Linked DNA regions of Homo sapiens: regions 1, 2 and 3 are each linked to region 4. Evidence: promoter capture Hi-C in 16 types of primary human blood cells and fetal thymus (Javierre and others, 2016). All regions are on one chromosome and are shown on one strand. Each heading gives the region's core, a stretch centred on a gene start or on the middle of the fragment in contact. The rest is flanking DNA. Distances are from core to core; before and after follow the strand shown. Region 1 overlaps PLCD4 (phospholipase C delta 4). Region 2 overlaps USP37 (ubiquitin specific peptidase 37). Region 3 overlaps STK36 (serine/threonine kinase 36). Region 4 holds the start of ARPC2 (actin related protein 2/3 complex subunit 2).

What was found. The method cuts DNA at HindIII sites, captures the fragments that hold promoters and counts their contacts. A CHiCAGO score of 5 or more calls a contact.
Region 1: a contact is called between a fragment that was not itself captured here and the fragment with the promoter of ARPC2 in region 4, in 1 of 17 cell types (non-activated CD4 T cells). The highest score is 5.4, in non-activated CD4 T cells.
Region 2: a fragment that was not itself captured here is called in contact with the fragment with the promoter of ARPC2 in region 4 in 3 of 17 cell types (non-activated CD4 T cells, monocytes and neutrophils); the score reaches 5.8 in non-activated CD4 T cells.
Region 3: a fragment that was not itself captured here is called in contact with the fragment with the promoter of ARPC2 in region 4 in 1 of 17 cell types (fetal thymus); the score reaches 5.4 in fetal thymus.

What each region holds. Positions count from the first base shown.
Region 1 is chr2:218,634,588-218,637,731 of GRCh38, reverse strand. PLCD4 (phospholipase C delta 4) reads right to left here. Exons shown (of 16, transcript NM_032726.4): 13 at 3,102-3,144; 14 at 1,801-1,936; 15 at 1,340-1,489; 16 at 557-1,261. The coding sequence ends at 1,155. ZNF142 (zinc finger protein 142) reads left to right here. Exons shown (of 11, transcript NM_001379659.1): 11 at 1-3,144. Among named protein-coding and RNA genes, the nearest start is that of ZNF142, 23 kb to the left of the region's middle. The HindIII fragment of the contact is 965 bases long and covers 1,058-2,022 here.
Region 2 is chr2:218,481,716-218,484,806 of GRCh38, reverse strand. It overlaps USP37 (ubiquitin specific peptidase 37), which reads left to right. Exons shown (of 26, transcript NM_020935.3): 17 at 2,573-2,737. Among named protein-coding and RNA genes, the nearest start is that of VIL1, 64 kb to the right of the region's middle. The HindIII fragment of the contact is 768 bases long and covers 1,271-2,038 here.
Region 3 is chr2:218,687,565-218,690,800 of GRCh38, reverse strand. It overlaps STK36 (serine/threonine kinase 36), which reads right to left. Exons shown (of 27, transcript NM_015690.5): 12 at 1,925-2,104; 13 at 845-942; 14 at 246-351. Among named protein-coding and RNA genes, the nearest start is that of STK36, 17 kb to the right of the region's middle. RefSeq lists a silencer at 3,082-3,236. The HindIII fragment of the contact is 3,676 bases long and covers 1-3,092 here.
Region 4 is chr2:218,215,740-218,218,839 of GRCh38, reverse strand. It overlaps ARPC2 (actin related protein 2/3 complex subunit 2), which reads right to left and starts at 1,651. Exons shown (of 11, transcript NM_152862.3): 1 at 1,586-1,651; 2 at 1,296-1,377. The coding sequence starts at 1,369. It overlaps LOC101928487 (a long non-coding RNA gene), which reads left to right and starts at 1,654. Exons shown (of 2, transcript XR_923908.2): 1 at 1,654-1,812; 2 at 1,989-2,739. RefSeq lists a silencer at 1,468-1,517 and an enhancer at 1,039-1,642. The HindIII fragment of the contact is 6,430 bases long and covers 1-2,866 here.

The DNA.
Region 1 (3,144 bases), core at 291-2,790, 420 kb before region 4:
CCTGCTCCCTACTTCCAAGCTCCTTTGTCTACCTGTATCTATAGAGGGAGGATTGCTACCCACTAAGCCTCCTCCTAGAAGCAACTTTAGCTCATCATCAATCCTCAGACTGGCTCAGCAGCTACACTAAGGTGTTAAAGCACAAGGATACTATGGAAAGGCAGATGACTAGAGAGGAAAATCTCCAATTCAGAATTCTATAACTGCTTCACAGTATAATTCTGTAGTGCCTTACTATATAATTGATCATCTAAACTGAGACACACTGGGAAAACTTAAAGAGGGTACTATTAATAATTATGCTGGGACAACAGACATAAACCAGGATGGTTCCAGCCAGACTCTTCAGGAAGGCTGGGACCACATAACCTTTTGTCTGCTTTTGCCCTGATTCTTAAAAGCCATACTCTGTGTCCTTCCTATGTAGCACATGCAAGAGGTCTCCTGGGAACCTCTTTCTCTACCTTTTCCTTGTCTCACCTGACTACCCAGATGTCCCCACAACCCTTGTACCTCCCCTTCTTGCCCAACAATGACAGACCATATTGAAGCCAAATTGGAGAGAGATGTATTTATACCAGTGGGGCTAAGGAGGAAGCAGTCCAGTGGGGGACTTTGAGTGCTGTGCAGTGTTCTCTTAAGAGTCGTAGTACAGTCCTGGGGTCAAGTCTCTTTCCCTAATCTTTGCTGGGGAAGCCTTGAGCCTTGATTTATCCTTCCCTTGGCTTTGGGCTTTGAGGAAGTTGGGGATGGAGGGGATGATGCTTCTTTAGGTTTCTCTATTCCAAGCCCCTCTGAATTTCTAGTTGCAACCTGCCTTCACACAGAGTTGATGGGAAAGATTAGTTGTAGATGTCGGTATGGGATTGAGCCTACAGCAAGAGGAAGAAGGGAACTCCAGTATAGAGTACACAAAGGAAAAGGGCAGGAAAGATACCAAAGGCTTATGAAAACAAAGGAAGGGAAGAAAAGAGAAAAAAGGTGGAAAATCAGGTCCCAGATTGCTTGTTAGGAAGAATGAGGTAATTTTGTGCCTAGGAATGCACAATCCAAAGCTTGATTTTCACCACCTCCATTTGTTCTCTCGAGCATCCTTCCAGATGTTTCTCCCCGTCTAAAGCCAGCACACCAACCCTTCCCGTGAAATGCCCACCTCAGGACTCATCCCCCTCCAGGCCTTCCTGGATGCAGATATACACAAAGATGGAAGCTGGGCGGAGGCTGATGCCATCTTTGGACAGCAGGTGAATGTGGCGGTAACCTGGAAGGGGCAGGAGGACAGCATTAGGAAGGCAGCCAGAGCTGGGGTATTGGCCAGGGGCCAAAGGGGCTGGCTCACCTTGTTGCATGCAGGTCCAAGGCAGGGTGTACTGACCAATAAAGTCATTTCGGGATTTCCAGTCATAATCCATTACCACAAAACGCAGCATGGCAAGTTCAGGCACCAGCACCCGGAAACATAGTGTCTGCCCCCAGTATGGATTAAAACCTGAGTTGGTGGACAGAAAGAAATAAGAAGACATTATGACAGTTTTCTTGACTGGGTTGCTTTTCTTGTGTTCTCATTTAATCTAGATGGCAATCAGCATTTTACAGGTAAGGAAAAAGGCTCAGAGTAAGCAAGTAATTTGCCCAGGTCACTGGAGCTTTTAAGTGAAGAGCCAGGATTCTTTGTACTGTTCCACACTGCCTCCCATGTGGGGACATGCAATAACAGATGCTATACTTAATGGAAGACAGACTAGAAGGAAAACTAATCATGCTCCTACCCCCACCTCCCCAGCACTGCCAGTTTCTCACCATTGTTCTCCACATAGTTGGTCTCCTGCCGTGCTGTGTCTAGACGAACGCCAAAGATCTGCACTTTCACCAGTGGATCCACAATGGACCCCTCTTTGGTCTTGTCCACTTTGGGGAGTTGCTGACCGCTGATCACCTGTAGTCAGGGCTCTGGAATCTCACAAGTTCCTGCTCAGCCCAGCCCCACCCGACCCTACTCCCAACCCCAGGGGAGAAGAAGCTTTTTGGTTTGTAAAACATCCTCCATGGGTAATATATTTTCTTCTAGTATTCTATCTGCAATTTAAAATGCACCCAAAGGCCGGGCACGGTGGCTCACACCTGTAATCCCAACACTTCAGGAGGCCGAGGTGGGCAGATCACTTGAAACCAGGAGACCAGCCTGGCCAACATGGTGAAACCCTATCTCTACTAAAAATACAAAAATTAGCCAGGCATGGTGGCGGGCGCCTGTAGTCCCAGCTACTCGGAAGGCTCAGATGGGAGAATCACTTGAACCCAGGAGGCGGAGGTTGCAGTGAGCCAAGATCATGCCACTGCACTCCAGCCTGCAGCAGAGCAAGACTCTGTCTCAGAATAAACAAATAAATTAAATGGATCCAGGTAGAAATTCAACAGTTTGAAAGTAGGCATGCTAATGACAGCAGCCACTTTTTTTTTTTCAAAGAGACACGATCATACTCTTGACCAAGCTGGAATGCAGTGGGGCAGTCATAGCTCACTGCAACCTCCATCTCCTGGGCTAAAGTGACCCTCCAGCCTTAGCCTCCTGAGTAGCCAGGACTATCTATAGTCATGTGCCACCATGCCAGGCTAATTTTTAAATTTTTTGTAGAGACGGGAGTCTCTACAAAATTTTTAAATTTTTTGTTGAGACCAGTTTCAGACTGGTCTCAAACTCCTGGGCTCAAGCAGTCCTCCTGCCTTGGCCTCCAAAGCGCTGGGATTACAGGTGTAAGCTATCGCTCCCAGCCAGCCTCTTTTATAGCACTTCCTGTGTGCCAGGAATTGTAAGAACTTTATATTAACTGTTATACTCCTTATAACCCTGTGAGGCAGGTGGTAGTGTTACCCCTATTTTGCAGGTGAGCAGACTGAGGTATGGAGAGGTTAAGGAACTTGCCCAACATTACCCAATTAGGAAGTTGTGGTTTGAAGCTAGGCAGCTGGCTCCAAAAGCTAAAACTAGACACTGTTAATAGGCTATCCGGCCTCTACATTCCGGTCAGGCCTAGCCACCTCTTCCCTCACTTCTATCCCAGTTATCTCAGTTTCTTCCCAACAGTTTATTTCCACTGTACCTGGATTAAGAGAGTCTGGGCTTTGAAAGGGCTGATGGGCTTC
Region 2 (3,091 bases), core at 405-2,904, 270 kb before region 4:
CACTTTGCCTACAGAGTGCTTTACTTTCTTTTATTAGCTTCAATATTCTGTCAGTAAGTGTGGAATTTCTGGAACCTAGCCCCTAGAGACTAGTTCTTTTACATTTCATAATCTACTCCTTTCTAGAAAATGGGAGTTGGTTTTTTTTTTTGGTTGTTTGTTGTTGTTGTTGTTGTTGTTGTTTTGATACAGAGTCTTGCTCTGTCCCCCAGGCTAGAGTGCAGTGGCACGATCTCAGCTCACCGCAACCTCTGCCTCACGGGTTCAAGCGATTCTCCTGCCTCAGCCTCCCGAGTAGCTGGGATTACAGCTGTATGCCACCACACCTGGCTAATTTTTGTATTTTTAGTAGAGACGGGGTTTTGCCATGTTGACCAGGTTGGTCTTGAACTCCTGACCTCAGGTGATCCACCTGCCTTGGCCTCCCAAAGTGCTGGGATTATAGGCATAAGCCACCGCGCCGGGCCAAGGAAGTTGGTTTTAAAGAAATGACTTTATAAAGGCTGGGTGTGGTGGTTCACGCCTGTAATCTCAACATTTTGAGAAGCCAAGGTGGAAGGTTTGCTTGAGACCAAGAGTTCAAGACCAGCCTGGGCAACATGGTGAGACCCCCATCTCTACAAAAAATGTTGTGTTTTTTGTTTTTTTCAAACAGAGTCTCGTTCTGTTGCCCAGGCTGGAATGCGGTGGCATGATCTCGGCTCACTGCAACCCCCGCCTCCTGGGTTCAAGCGATTCTCCTGCCTCAGCCTCCTGAGTAGCTGGGATTACAGGAACGCGCCACCACGCCTGGCTAATTTTTGTGTTTTTGGTAGAGACAGGGTCGCGCCGTGTTGGCCAGGCTGGTCTCAAACTCCTGACCTCAGGTGATGTGGCCGCCTCGGCCTCCTCAAGTGTATAAATCATAGCAGTATTATTATATTGACTTAAGAGACTTATATTTTTGGATTAAGAGAATTTGTTCTTTCCTGTTTGTGAGTGGTTTGAGGCCAGGAAGGTGGGAGGAAGAATCTTAAGGCAAAGAATTGGTTGTTACCAGCTGTCACTAAGGAAATTATGTGTACAGTTAAAAAGACTAGTTTTGACCTCACATGCTGGATGTCTTTTCTCTTTCCCATTCTCTTGCTATTTGGTTTTTCAAGTGGGGGGAAAAAAATGCTAAGGGGAATTTTTCTCCTTGTTTTTCTTTCTTTTTTTTCTTTTTTTTTTTTTTCCTGGTAGATCACTTGTGTTAAAGGTTAATTTATTCCAGACTTATGTGATAGAAGCTTCTGTTTGTCAAATCCTAATATTAGTTTTGTTCTACTTTTGTTCAATTTAATATTCAAAGCCACTCTTTAAATCCTAATGATTAGTCTTGTTCTACTTTTGTTCAGTTTAATATTCAAAGCCACTCTTATTCTTGAAGAGCCTGATGCCATTATCAAATCTGTTCACAAAGTTGGGCCTCATCTTTGAAGATCAGTGATTTTGACTATCATTTTCCTGTTTTATATTACCTTCCCCCCCACCTTTTACTGCTCCATGCATAGCAGGGCTACACTATAGGCAGTGTGTCCAGAGTAGCCTCATATTACCTTTTATTTTGGTTAGGTTATTTGAAATTCTAGTTAAAATATTTAATTTTGACATTGGTTTCATATCAGTTGTGTCCTTGTATTCTCTCAAATTGTATATTTGAAGATCCTGAGTTCTAGCACGCTTTTTAAAGAGAACTACAATCTATAACTTCAGTTTGCAAATTTTTGTTTGTGGCTTCTGTGATGAAGGCATATATGGTAAGAATCAGTTTTTTATAGATCATTTTTGTGTGTGTGCCTAGAACTGAAGTTTATTCCCATAAGATGTTTGAAATTCAATTTTTAAAGTGTTCTTGTGGGTTGAGAAATATATTTAATCCATCAAGCAGAGATCGTGTTCTGTGTGAGAAGTGAAAAGGTTACCACAATTTTAACCACAAAGAATTCAGTGCTTCTAAAGAGCTAAAAGCCTTTACAGACCCACAGATCAGATTTGGCATGCAAATTTTTGTAAAGCTTTTTTCTAAATGGGGAAAAGTTTTGTATTTCCTCCTTAGCTTTCTACAGAGAAAGTACTTCTGAAAATAAAAGAATAATTCTCATCAAAAATCATCTTGAAGTAATTAATGTTTACCATCAAATATAAGAGCTATGTAACATTTTAATAGACATTATTTTACTAGTAGTGGTTATATAAAACCTATTGCTTTTTAAACTATGTAACAGTGAAGTAAATAATTTAAGGATTTAACCCAATATCAGTGCCAAATTTAACATTCTTGTCTGCTATATTTTATTTATTTGTGTTTTTTCTAGGAACATTATAAGTATTTTACCCAAACCACACTAATCCACCATTATTTGTATGCTTTTTACCTAGCCCAATGCCTGGCACTAACAGGTATTCAGTAAATATTCTTTGACGTGTCTTTGGTTTGGCCAAATGGATTTTTTAAATCAAAAGTCGTCTAACATAGAGTGATCTCTTTTACTGTAAGAAAGATACATGTATTATGTATGAATTAGTAAGGTTGTCATCTCCTGTTTTTCAGGGTCCTCATTCTCCATTTGAAACGATATAGCTTCAATGTGGCTCTCTCGCTTAACAATAAGATTGGGCAGCAAGTCATCATTCCAAGATACCTGACCCTGTCATCTCATTGCACTGAAAATACAAAACCACCTTTTACCCTTGGTTGGAGTGCACATATGGCAATGTAAGTCCTTGAGAGACTATGTCTTTATATTCCCTTTTGAAATAGAAAGGCTTTAGTATCTAATCAAAAGAATGACTGAATTACATAATATGACTCCAAGGTAAAATCAGATCAATGGCCAGATGCAGTGGCTCATGCCTGTAATCCCAGCACTTTGGGAGGCTGAGGCAGGAGAATCGCTTGAGCCTAGGAGTTTGAAACCACCTATGGCAACAGAGCATGACCTCATCTCTACAAAAAATAAAATAATAAAGCCAGCATGGTGGCACACACCTGTAGTGCCAGCTACTCGAGGCTGAGGTGGGAGGATTGCTGGAGCCTGGGAGATGAAGGCTGCAGTGAATGGTGATCAGA
Region 3 (3,236 bases), core at 5-2,504, 470 kb before region 4:
ATATGCAAAGTTCTAATGTACTTTTCACTGTTGTCCTTAATCCCTTTACCTCTCCCCTATTAAATTATCCCTAGTCCCTTGAAGGCAGGCACTTTTTCTTACTCACATGGCATATGGCATGGTGGGAATTTAACAAATGTTTGTCATATTAACTTGATCTGACCCTACATAGTCATAAGAAAGGGGATGGGAGAAACACGGAGAATGATAGGAGACACAGAAATCTGGAAGTGGGAGCAGATTACCATAAGGCTGTCCCTCCGCAAAGTCTGCTCAGAGTCATCTGGTTGGGCCAGCAGTTTCCCCAACAGGTCCAGAAAAAGGTTGGCAGCCTCCTGAAACACCTGCAGGCTGGGGGTGGAAAATGAGCCCATGATTTCTTATCTCTCTACTAAAAGCCTGGATGTGGTGAATGGGTCAGTCCTGGGCAGGTAGGAGAATCTCTGCAAAGGGACACATCAGAATGTTCCTCCCTTCTCCCTTGCCACACACACACATACACCCTCCAAGCCCCTTCTTTGCCATTTTCTCTAGGTTATTCGCATATTTTTTTTCTTTCTTTCTTTCTTTAATCCAATTGGCTTCCTGGAATAGGTTATTCACATCTTGACCCTTCCATTTTAGGACCATGGTGACTGCTGACTCTTAGAAACTGTAAGTCTTGAGGCCAAGTTGGAGCTGTCTTAGGGTCCTTAAAAGGACTATGAGTGGCCACTCAGCTGATTCCTAAACCTGTAACAAATCACAGCTTCTTCATACTTGGCCTGTTCCTAAATGGGAAGGGCACTTGGGGTAGAAACAGAAGCCAAACTTGCCAACAATGCAAAAGCACTTCTTATCCTACCTGTCACTTGTCTGGCTCCTCTCCAGATTGAAGGTACAGGCAAAGTAGGCCTGAATCACAGCCATCAGGTCCTGTAAGAAGGTCCCATACCAAGATTGCTGCCCAGGAAAAGGAGAAGAGAGTAAGGGCAATGTGAAGGATGGAAACAAAGAATAGAAAAAACAGTAGAAAGGGTGTATAGAGACCCAGTCAAGTTGATCAAACAGAAAGGGACAGAAGAGAAGTATAGGCAGAGAGAGAGTTCTAGGGGTAACAGAGAATCTGCCAATGGGCTGTGAACAGCCTGGATTAAATGTGTCTTGTTTGGCCTGAATAGCATTTTGGAGTATAGGAGGTTCTATTTTTCAAAAATCTTTTTCTCTAAATTCCTTAAAATCACCCAAGATTAATACTCATCAACAAAGTGCAGCTTTCCAGCTGCCTCATCCTAGGCCCTATTAGGCATTTACACTGACTCTGAAACATTCCCCATCCTCTCAGTCCAGCTACCGTAGGACACAGCAGGGGGAAGTAGAGGTTTGGCCCCAAACACATTGAGTCTCTATCCCAGCTCTTCCACTTGTTATCTCTGTGACCATTTACAAATTAGTGACTGTGTATGAGTTACCTCTGAATTTTAGTACTCTGCTCTGTAAGATCAGGTCAATGAAGCCTAGGATCTAACATTTCAAAGCACAGCGCTCTAAATATTTAAAAATTACACATAAAAATTTGGGTTTCTACCTTTTCTTAGAAAACTAGAAGATCTGGCTAGTTTTCTCAGGCCCATATTTCCCTGTGGCAACAATGGGCTGGAGGCTGAGGAAAGGATGCCTCTACTCTATTTAGAGGAGGCATGTGAACTCTAGTTCATCATATTCCCCACAACTCATATAGTCACATGCATAGCCTACTTCATGGCAGACCTTATCTGCCTGGCCCCAGAAGGCATTAGAGTTTGCAATTAATAGTCTACTAACTAGAAAGAGGAGGAAAGAAAATAAAAGGCAGTCAGACCAAAGAGAGATGGCAATCTGAATGAGATAAATCCAAGAAAAAGAACCTCTGTAAGTCTTCAGAGGCTTCTGGCCTGGTGCTTACCTGCTGGAGGCTGTTGCTCTCCTGACTGTGCCTGAGTAGACTCAGCAGCAGCCCAGGAAGCCCTGCCTCCCGGCAGAAGGAATACAAGGCAACAGAATCACTGCAGCTGGAGAGAAGACTGCTCAGGACCCGGAATGCAGGCAGGATGTGGGAAGCACCCTCCAAGATGCCTTTCAGGATCTGGGTGACATGAGGGAAAGAGGCAACGATTGATATTTTCAGAGGTAAAAGAAGGAGAACTACACATACCAAGCATCCCCAAGGAGCTGGGAAAGCAGACCACATGCTTGCATTCCTTTCTTTGCAAGTCTAAAACACAGAGAAGGAAAGCAGGGAAATAGGGGAACTGTACCAGGGAAGAAGACAATAGATGGTCAGGTTACCTAACACAGAACACCAGTGACCAACGGATAGGGGCCTCTCCTCAGGATCTCTGTCAGACTAAGTGCCATTCCCATCTGCTCCCTCCCTTCTCCAGCCCTTCACCTTAAAAACAAAAAACACGTGCACCGCACATGCTTCTGAAAATTCAAAACAATGCATATAAAACAATATTATTTAACCACAGAAAGACAAAACAACATTATTCAACTCTAGATCAGGGTTGACAAACTATGGCTCACAGGTCAAATCCAGCCTAACATTTATTTGTATACAGCCTGCATGCTAAGGATAGTATTATATTTTTATTTATTTTTGCCCTTTATTTATTTTTCGAGACAGAGTTTCACTCTTGTCCTCCAGGCTGGAGTGTAATGGTGCAATCTTGGCTCACTGCAACCTCTCTGCCTCCTGGGTTCAAGTGATTCTCCTGCCTCAGCCTCCCAAGTAGCTGGGATTACAGGTGCCCACCACCACACCTAGCTAATTTTTGTATTTTTAGTAGAGATGGGATTTCACCATGTTGGCCAGGCTGGCCTCAAACTCCTGACCTCAAGTGATCCTCCCACCTCAGCCTCCCAAAGTGCTAGGATTACAGGCGTGAGCCACCATGCCTGGCCAGTATTGTATTTTTAAATGGTTATTCTTCAAAAGAAGAACATTTACACCAAGTATTTTATAATATTCCATTAGCTGTTCTAAATGTTGGCATCTGCTCATTTAATATTTACAATAACCCTGTGAAATAAATAGAATTAGCCATTTTATAGATGAAGAAACTGAAGCTTCTGCATAAGTCAAGTAAGTAGTCCAAGATCACGCAGCTAATGAGTAGTGCAGCTGGAATTCCACCAGAGGGAGTCTTATCCCTAAAGGCAGAGCTTTCAGTCTGCCTCCCCACACTGCAAGTTATCCAACACTAGGAGGAAAA
Region 4 (3,100 bases), core at 402-2,901:
ACTTCAAGGAAAGTAGTGCTTTGTTTTACAGATAAAATCTGTGGCCTTATAAAGGAGACAGGACATACTATATATTCAATTTAAATGGCAGTTAATACTTTCTAATGCCTCCAAGCCACAAGTACATTATGACCACTTAAAAATTCCCCTCTACCAATCTTCTCCCATCTGTGGATCTGCAAGCACTTTCCTATTACTAGTTCCCAGTTCACCAGAAACGGTCTGCACTTATTAACTGTGAAACCCAGATGTGAAGCCCCATGCTCATACATAGGGAAATGAGGCAAAGGGACTGGCCACAGGCCACCAAAAATTAGAACCCAAAATCCTTAGCTCATGTTTTAAATATTATACTAGAAAAGCAAAGCAGCTTTGGAGGAGCAGATTGTCTTCTACTGATTCTTGTGTTTGGCAGAGAGGCTGCCTTGGAAAGATGCCCTAAGCCCATCTTTTAAAAAGTCCAATCGTAAAGACAGGTTATCTAAGAACTTTATAGATTCTGGAGTCTTTGAAGTGTGTAACTGGGCCAGGGCTACCACAGAAGAAATCACAGACCTAGGGTCTTGATGTAAGAATTTACAAGATAACCAGATAAAGGCTAGTGGGTGAGGAGAGAGCATTAGAACCTCAAAGGAGAGATAAGGAAGGGGTGTGGAGCGAGGGACAATTGGCTTTGCTTTAAAAATATGTAACAAAATGGCCCAGTGTCTCTCACAGAAGGGTTCGGGGAAGGGAAACCAGAGATCGCGTTTTTCCGGCTCTAAGACTGGGTCGGCTTTTAGTCTTCTCTTCTGCTCCTTTTAAAGGAGATGGGGGTGGGGAACGAGAATGCTGGTGGCGATGTGGGCCTGCATCTCCTTCCCTCCTCCAGTCCTGGGAATTCCTGAAAACTCCTTCCAACCCAATTCCAAACAGGCTCTCTCTGGGTTCAGAACAATGCCGGGGAATTTCACGCAGGGAAGGGGTCCCCTTCTCGCCCCAGAGGGCAGGGGGCTACTCCGGAGCGAGTTCCGGCTCCAGGGTCCCCCACGTCCCACAGGTCTCCTGCCCTTTGGCACGCACAGCCCTCACCACTCGCTGCTTCCGCATCCCTCCTCTGAGCCTCTCCCCACGCATCTCTGCCCCTCGCCCGGCCGCGCCCAATCGCCTCCCACGTCTACCCCGCTGGGGCAGCCCCTACACCCTGCCAGGCACCCCATTTCTCTCCTCCAGGTCTGGGGGACTGGACAACATTGGGGATTAGCTGGGGTCAACTCTGCTTCCCCCGCCACCCCCGGCCCCGGGCGCGCGCTCACCCGGCGGCCGCGTTCTCGAACTTGAGCGCGAGCGTCTCCTCGATGATGCGGTTGTTCACCTCCAGCAGGATCATGGCGGCGGCTGCCCCCAGGGGAAGGAGAAACAAGGGCCGGTGAGGGTGGGTAAGGGAGGCAAGGACGGAGGGAGCGGCCCTGCTGCCCCCTGAGTGGGGCTGGGTGGGGTAGGAGGTTAGGGGAGAAGGGGAGAGGGGCCGGGGTGGAGGGAAGGGTAAGACGAACGCGCTGGCCCACGCACGCAGACTGTGGAGACACCCACCCACCCAACCGACCTGGCCCCCGAAGCCTGAACCCGCCTGCCGAGCCGCCGCCGCCGCCGCCACTGCCGCTTCACCGACAAGCCCGGTCCCCGCCCAGCCCCCGGCTCTAGCCGGCCACTTCCGCTCTCACACCCACTTCCGCTCGCCGCCTGGACGCGCGGCCCCGCGGCGCCATTTCCGCTTCAACCACTCGTGAACGCGAGCGCAGGCGCGCCGGAGGAAACGGAGGCTGCGCTTGCGTATGTGTGATGCCGCCGCCCCACCGTCTACTTTCCCACCGACCCCGCTTACGTCTACCGCCTACCAGTGCGTCCCCCGCGGAGCTGTCATTCCCCGAGGCTTGCCTGACTGTTCAGCTTCTCTCTCCCGCTTGTCCCAGAGATCCAACTCCATTCTTCCGGTCTTGTCATTTCAGAAACCTCGCAAGAAGCTCGCCCTTGTCGTCTCCCAGCGGGCTTCTTAGCTCCCAGCTTGTTTGATGGGGGTGCCTCTTTTTCTTTCCAGGTATAGCTGTCCAGCGACACCATCATGCATTCATTTCTCCAACAAACATTTTCATGGGCTCTTGCTCTATACTGGGGATGTAGTGGTAAATGAAATGGACGAGGCCCTGCCCTCGTGGAACTTACAGTCTGGCAAAGGAAACAGACAATAAAATTCTCAGTTGTCTAAGGAGGCAGAGATGCATGGGGAGAGGATCAGAGTAGGGATGCGGAAGCAGCGAGTGGTCAGGAGTGTGCGTGCCAAAAGGCAGGAGACCTGTGGGACGTGGGGGCAGCTGGGGCCGGAACTTGCGCTGGAGGAACACCCCTTGCCTGCTGGGGCGAGAAGAGGACCCTTTCCTTGGGTGAAATTCCCCATATTGTTAAAAGGACAATTAAAGAAATGAAAGAGAGGTCACCTGGGTGAATAGGCAACTTAGATGGGCCTCCCTGTGTTCCTGTCATGCCTCCAATTCTGCGTCCAGGTGTCCGGAACACATTTTTTTCTGCCTTTGAAACCTTCCAGTACCTCTGGCAGAGATATACCATACCCTCCTTGTTACCTGCGTGCGGAATCTTAACTCATCGTTGTGCTACATCTGCACCTTCTGCCTTTGTGCCTTGTTTTGTGTTTTCCCTCCTCCGGGGAGAATATAATAAACTTAGCTGAGTCCGTTCTACATACAAGGAAATAATTTATTTTCTGCTATGTGTTTGGGGATGGGGATAAAAAAATGAACAAGAAACTAGCTCCTATCATTAAGGCACAGATAGCCCTTTGAAACATTACTTAACGGGCTATGGATAAGCTTCAGGATATTGCTGATCCCCTAAAATTATACGCTAACTTAAATTTTTTTTTTTTTGAGACAGAGTCTTGCACTCTTGCCCAGGCTGGAGTGCAATGGCATGATCTCGGCTCACTGCAACCTCTGCCTCCCCGGTTCAAGCGATTCTCCTGCCTCAGCCTCCCAAATAGCTGGGATTAAAGGTGCCTGCCACCATGCCCTTTTAATGTTTTGTATTTTTAGTAGAGACGGGGTTT